Linked DNA regions of Homo sapiens: region 1 is linked to region 2. The links are contacts of gene promoters, found by promoter capture Hi-C in blood cells and fetal thymus (Javierre and others, 2016). All regions are on one chromosome and are shown on one strand. The core of a region is centred on a gene start or on the middle of the fragment in contact, and the rest is flanking DNA. Distances in the headings are between cores, read along the strand shown. Region 1 overlaps LINC01117 (long intergenic non-protein coding RNA 1117). Region 2 holds the start of EVX2 (even-skipped homeobox 2).

What was found. Contacts are between HindIII fragments. The CHiCAGO score rates a contact against its expected background, and 5 or more counts as called.
Region 1: a fragment that was not itself captured here is called in contact with the fragment with the promoter of EVX2 in region 2 in 3 of 17 cell types (fetal thymus, total B cells and naive B cells); the score reaches 7.4 in fetal thymus.

Annotation. Positions count from the first base shown.
Region 1 is chr2:176,649,220-176,652,377 of GRCh38, reverse strand. The region is part of intron 2 of LINC01117 (long intergenic non-protein coding RNA 1117); the gene reads right to left. Among named protein-coding and RNA genes, the nearest start is that of LINC01117, 13 kb to the right of the region's middle. The HindIII fragment of the contact is 3,248 bases long and covers 242-3,158 here.
Region 2 is chr2:176,082,372-176,085,454 of GRCh38, reverse strand. EVX2 (even-skipped homeobox 2) reads left to right here and starts at 1,493. Exons shown (of 3, transcript NM_001080458.2): 1 at 1,493-2,105; 2 at 3,006-3,083. The coding sequence starts at 1,679. RefSeq lists an enhancer at 2,119-2,734. The HindIII fragment of the contact is 15,744 bases long and covers 1-3,083 here.

The sequences.
Region 1 (3,158 bases), core at 616-3,115, 570 kb before region 2:
CTGGTATAATAAACCTTGCTTTGAGTCCTATTGCTACTAGATTTAATGGCTTACACATTTTGCTATTTACAACTCCTGCACACCAAACAGCAGAAAATAATATTGTTGCGTGTGCCATAAACAGTGTTGCTGCAGGTCTATTTTATGTAGTACTATCGTTTTTATAATCTCAAATGTTTGGCAACTGCAGTCAAAAAGCAAAAAAAAAAAAAATCTAACCAAATACTATATGCTGTAAGCTTCAGTTGTCTTCAGTCTTAAAAATATATACCTCGTTGAGAAGAAAATATTTTTCTTCAGACAAAAGAGAGTGGTAATTCAGCTGTAATAGACAACAATGTAAAAATCTTCTCTTAGTCAAATTCATCTCTCCTTAATTTGAGATCCAGTTAAGGGTACGTCAAAATCCATTTTAGCTTTGATTCTATTTAGGAGCTAATTAAAACTGAATATTATTAGCACAGGTATATTGTTCAATTATTTTAATATTCTTATTTTAAGAATTTAATCAAAGCTCTTCTCATGAACAAAAAGCAATAATATTTTTAAAATTGGAACCCCAATTTGCATGTGCAAATAACTGTAGAATGAGCTCACTAAACTATCTTGCCAATGACCTCGACCTTGATCTGGAAAGATCGTTTATGCACAAGTAAAACATTCACATTCTCTACGCTAACTCTGTGTTGGACCTTTTCTCAAGGTAGTTTACTTATGGCAACGTTGGAAGGTCTTTTAATAACATATGTATTTACCAACACCATTGAATTATATATTTAAATGGAATATCATTTCTGTCCATTTTTTATTTTAATCAGGATTTGCTCCCTTTGTACTTATATATGCAAAATTTTGGTTAAGCGTCTGCAAAGCAGTGAGTAGAAGAAGATTTGCGTATATGGTTTATTTAGTCAGTCTCCCAGACTGAGAAGCCTGGCTTTTCTATCGGTATACAAACTGGTTCTTCAATCAGAGGCTGAATGCGAAGGAGTCCTTATACAACAAAAAGCTGGAACCACCATTTTGCCATCCGCTCGCATACAATAAAATGGTGGCACAGAAAACAGTTAACACATTGTGCCCACGAGAGTTGTCTGAAAGTATTCAACTCTCTAATCCAGATATCAAGCTGCTTTCTAAAATACTGTTACCAAGTGGCTAGAGGTATTTGCTTATGTATATAATGCACGTGTGTGTGTGTGGTGTGCAGTGTGTGTATGAGATGCCGGAAGAAATGGATGTGTACATTTGACGAAAGGATAGAAAGAACTAGTCAAAAATTAACACTCAAGCTGAGAGTGAAAGCAAACCTATGTAAAAGCACAGGTCCTGGAAATTGCTTCTAACAGTTCGCAAAAGCTGTATAGTGAATTTGGCCTTGATAACTCCTTTCATTTTAGCATTCACTGCAAGCAACTTTGAGCTAGGAAATTTAAGGGAGTTGGTATTCTTTTTCTTTCTTTTTCTTTCCTAACGTCCTGTATAAATTAAAAGCAAGCCCACAATTGACTTTCACCTGGAAACTCCATGGTCTCGCTTAACAGAGGGGAAGGAAAACCAGGGACCAATCTTTCTTTCCTCTTTTACTTCTTCTGCTCTTATTTTTAGTCATTACAAATGCTGCCTTGGCTCTTTTAAAGTGTGAAAATTCTCATTTTTCTGCAGTGCTTCAGACTCACGCACTCCTTGGGGATACAGTGAGGAGCTAACCAACTGCACATGGGAAATGAGACCATTCGTGGTTAGAAAAACTGCAGTCTTTGGTAATTTTCCACATGGAGTAGAAGCCATAAGTGACTTTTTTCTTTTCCACATAATGACTTTACGTGAGTAGTTGGTATAGAATTGTAGGCTCAGGTTTGAACATATGAATGCACTAATGTGTTTTACAAAATTTAATTTGACTTCTATAAACATTTTCAGTATTTTCAAGTGCATAATAAATAGGTTAAAACAGGGCACCCTCCCTCTGCAATCCCCCACTTCCAGACAGAATTATAAAAGGCTACTGTCTGTAAATGAGAAATAGCCCGTAAGACCCACCAGCAGGTTATGCAATATGTGATATAGACCACCAGGGGCTGAACTGAAACCACTAATACTTTTTTTCATAGCATCATTAGCTAGAGTTAAACAAGGTGTCAAAGTGGAAAGATGGGGAGGTTAACCTGGCTCATTATATTTGCATGCCTTCATTTTAATTATTTTTTGTACTAAAATTAAACACTAATATTCAATTTTATTATTTAAATGTGTTACCCACAAACAGTACATTACTTTTTATCTTTTTAAACGATTAATGCATTATTTTGTGATTATTATCTAAACTTGATTTTCAATAAATACTAAAATTCTCTTGACAAAAATGTAATTTAAATTTAAGGCTAAGGAGAGGTTATTAGTAAAAATTTTCCCTGTTGTACTTTATGAGATAAAATTGATTTTCATTTTTTGAAATTTAGATCTTAAATCAAAATCTGCCTCCAACCAAGATGAGTGAGCCCAGGGCTCATGGAGTGAGTTTGCATGCATTCTTGATCTCATGTTGACAGTCATCGGGAAAAAATATGTTCTCTTTATAATAGCTCCTTTACAATTTAGGACATTGCTAGGTTTTTACATGCACTAATATTAGTTGCCCCATGTACCTTAAGTAAAGCCAACCCAATAAATTTAGGATTGTGACTGAGAAATAAATGCCATGTCAGTAAACCTCAACCAGATACCAGAAGAAGGATTATGTGATTGTTTAGTCCAAAAATTAAGTTTCATGTCTTTAATTGGTGTCATATCCTGTCCTAAGTATGTAGTGCTTAAATCAAAGGCAACCACATTAACCTGGAAAGGAAACATAATAACAACTCCTTTCATCCCCTGCCTCAAATGTTTGTATGCTCTACCCTAATTTTTGTTAAAACACTTTCAGGCAAAGACAACAGGAAATAGTAAACATGGCAACACCATGAAAATAGTTTTCGGATGCACTATTTCTCTCCATGTTCAAAGAATCAGTTGTATAGGCTGCAGAAGAAACTGATGCATCATTAAACCTAATGCAGACAAAAACAGCCACACTTCCAGCAAAATGGATAGTTCTGTTCATTTTATAAATCTTGGTTCTAGCCAGACGAAAGCCAGGAATTAACTCGGTCTCTCAC
Region 2 (3,083 bases), core at 244-2,743:
TCAGGGAAGGGTGGGCGCAACCGCGGGAGATGAGGAGCGGCCTGGAGTGAAGATTGATCTTCGTTAAAATGGTTGCCACCGGCGTCATTATGACTATCAAAGTTGTCGCCAAGAGGCTCAGCCTCCAAGCCCAGGCCGCAGAGAGCTGCTGTAAGGCTGTTCGGCGACTCTCTGCGCCCGGACCCAACGCTGGGAATACCTGTGGCCGCAGGTAAGGGGCTGGGGTTGATGAGGGGAGGAAAGAGAGAAGGAAGAAAAGCAAAGGGGAAGGGAGGGCAGCGGGGAGGTAGGGGAAGAAGGCTGTCTCCTCTTTCCTCTTTTGACCTCGAAATCCAGCGCCTTTGCCGCAAATAATTCTATTTGAGGAGGGAGGGGAAAATCTGGCAACGTGAGCGTGGATTCGGAGCGCCCGTATGGCGCTGTAAATCTCCACTGTGTTTAAAGTTAGCTGTCGAATTCTGCTATCAAATCGTCCAGCCTAGTTCGTTTCCCCTCAGGAAAATGCGTAGGCGAGAAGGCTTTCTATCAGCAGGATTATAAAAGTAAAAAACCGGGGACTTCGAGTTCAGATCTCACTCTGCAGACGGTGTTAGAAAATCAGAGAGGACCTAATGATTTCCGTTTGGAGGCGCGGGCCCAATGCACCTCCGCGGCCACGTAGCAAGAAAGCGCTTTCAAAACTCTAGGATATTTCTATTTCTCTCTCTCTCTCTCTCTCTCTTTCTCTCACTCCGTCTCCCTCTCCCTTTCTCCCTCTCTCCCTCTCTCCCTCTCTTCCGCTCTCTCTCTCTCCCGGGGTGGGAGGAGAGCATTTAGGCTGAGGTGAAGAAATAGGGAGGGAAAGAACTCCGGCGTCCTATTTGTTAAATAAAATACATATTTGGTTCCGAAATCCGAAAGATAAGTAATCCAGATAGGAGAGGCGCAAGGTCTTCTCCTTACGCAACTCTTCCTGCATCCTCCCCCTTATCTCCCCCCACTTATGCCCCCAGCTTGTAAATGGTAAAAAAAAAAAAAAAAAAAAAAAAAAAAACCAAACCTTCCCGAGGACCTACTCTGGAAAGTCAAACCATTATCTATTATTTAATACGTATCTGTGTCCAAGGAAAAATGAAGAAGGCGCTGCATGATTAGGACCTAAGGGGCAACCTAGCAAACTGAGAGCGTAATGATGCCCCTAAATGAAGGGGGAAATGTGCCGCGGCGCGCTCTATTAATCAGACTGTCAATTTCACCCCCGAGGCCAAACCCCCGGGCGAGCAGAACTGGCTCGGAGCGGGCAAAGGACCGGAGCCTTCCTCCTCACTTGTCTCTTCTCGCCTCCTACCTGGATCTATTTGTCTGCTCTGAAGCTGCCTTCATTACCCACTGACAGGAGGGTGTATTTATTTGCTTATAAACCTGTTACAATAAATGATTATTCGAACAGCGTCATTCGTACCTTAATGACGAGCGGGCGCTACTTTTTGATGAATGACATCTCGGGATCGGAAGGATGTATGGGTCATTTTGACCAGTCATTCCCTCGCTCTGGCATCCCACAATTTTTCCGCCTCCCTCCGAAAGCGATAATAATATTTAGAGGCGTTCGCTGGGGCTGAATGAGAATTAGCCCTAGGCGCAGCCTATCATTAGGACGGGACAGCAGGGCCACTGTGACATTTTTAAGAAAGCTGAGATGATGGAAAGAATAAGAAAAGAGATGATTCTGATGGAGAGAGGGCTGCACAGCCCTACGGCGGGCAAGAGATTCTCCAATTTGTCCAACTCGGCTGGCAATGCTGTGCTCGAGGCCCTGGAAAATTCGCAGCACCCGGCTCGCCTAAGCCCGCGCCTGCCGTCTGCCCCCCTGCACAGCGCTCTGGGAGAACTCCCCGCCAAGGGCAAATTCGAAATAGACACTTTGTTCAACCTGCAGCACACGGGCAGCGAAAGCACCGTCTCCTCCGAAATCTCCTCCGCCGCCGAGAGCCGCAAGAAGCCGGGCCATTATTCAGAGGCGGCCGCTGAGGCCGACATGAGCAGCGACGTGGAGGTGGGCTGCTCCGCGCTTCGCTCCCCCGGGGGCCTCGGCGCCGCTCAGCTTAAGGAAAACAATGGCAAAGGTAACCGCGCCGGCCGCACCGCGCTCTCCAGTCCCATCCTCTTTGCTCCTCCGCGGCCCCCGCCAGCCTTTCCCGGTGCCTTTTCCCCTCTCAGACCCTCCACAGGCAAGCTACACCGAGCTAGCACGGGCGGGGGCGGGACGCATGTCTGGGACCGTGCCTTCCAGTTCTGCTCCTTGAGCTTTCCCGCCAGGCTCAGGCCTGCGGAGCCTGGAACACCAGGCCCACCCGCCCTCGCTCCTGAGTCCGAGAAAATGTTTCTGCGCTCGTGTCTAAGAGCCCGAGCGAGCCGGTAGACCCCTAGTCAGCAGCCGAGTTGCTTTTGGGAAAGGTACCCTGGGCAACTACTCTGAACTCCCCTGCCCCTGTGCCCTCAGGGCTGGAGGGGGCATTCTTCTGGGTAAGTCGGAGGAAGCCTCGCCGGCGTCTCTGTTTAGGTCAGCGGGAGAAAGAGTTGAAAAGTATATTTCACCCCCTATTGGCTTGGGTTTGAGCTACTGCTGTGTTGGAACTCTTAAAATATTTGAAACCCCGAAGACTCAGATAAAGGTTAGAGGCCGTATAAAAAGCTGCCCTGCGGTCTCCAGACCATGGGAAACCCAGAGCTTCCCAAACTGCGCCCAGAGGTAGGCATTTTCCCTCGGCCACTTTTCCTCCTTGGTTGAAAATTTCTAATTATTAAAAAAGAAATCTCCTAATTCCGTTTCTATTATTTGCTTATGAAGGGCTCCCCAAACTTTATTGATTCCATTAACGGCAGCAATTTGTAAGCATGACAGACCCCATCAATTCCGGCAGCGACTCTCCTTCCTGACGGGGCTTCCCCGATCCGCGCGCAGCGCCAGCGCCGGGCTGTTGGTCCTACAGCCACTCATGCGCTGTTGGTCGTTTGTTTGCCAGGGTACGCAGAGAGCGGCTCGGCTGCCGGCACCACGACGTCGGCGTCGGGCTCAGGCCTCGGAAGCCTGCATGGAGGCA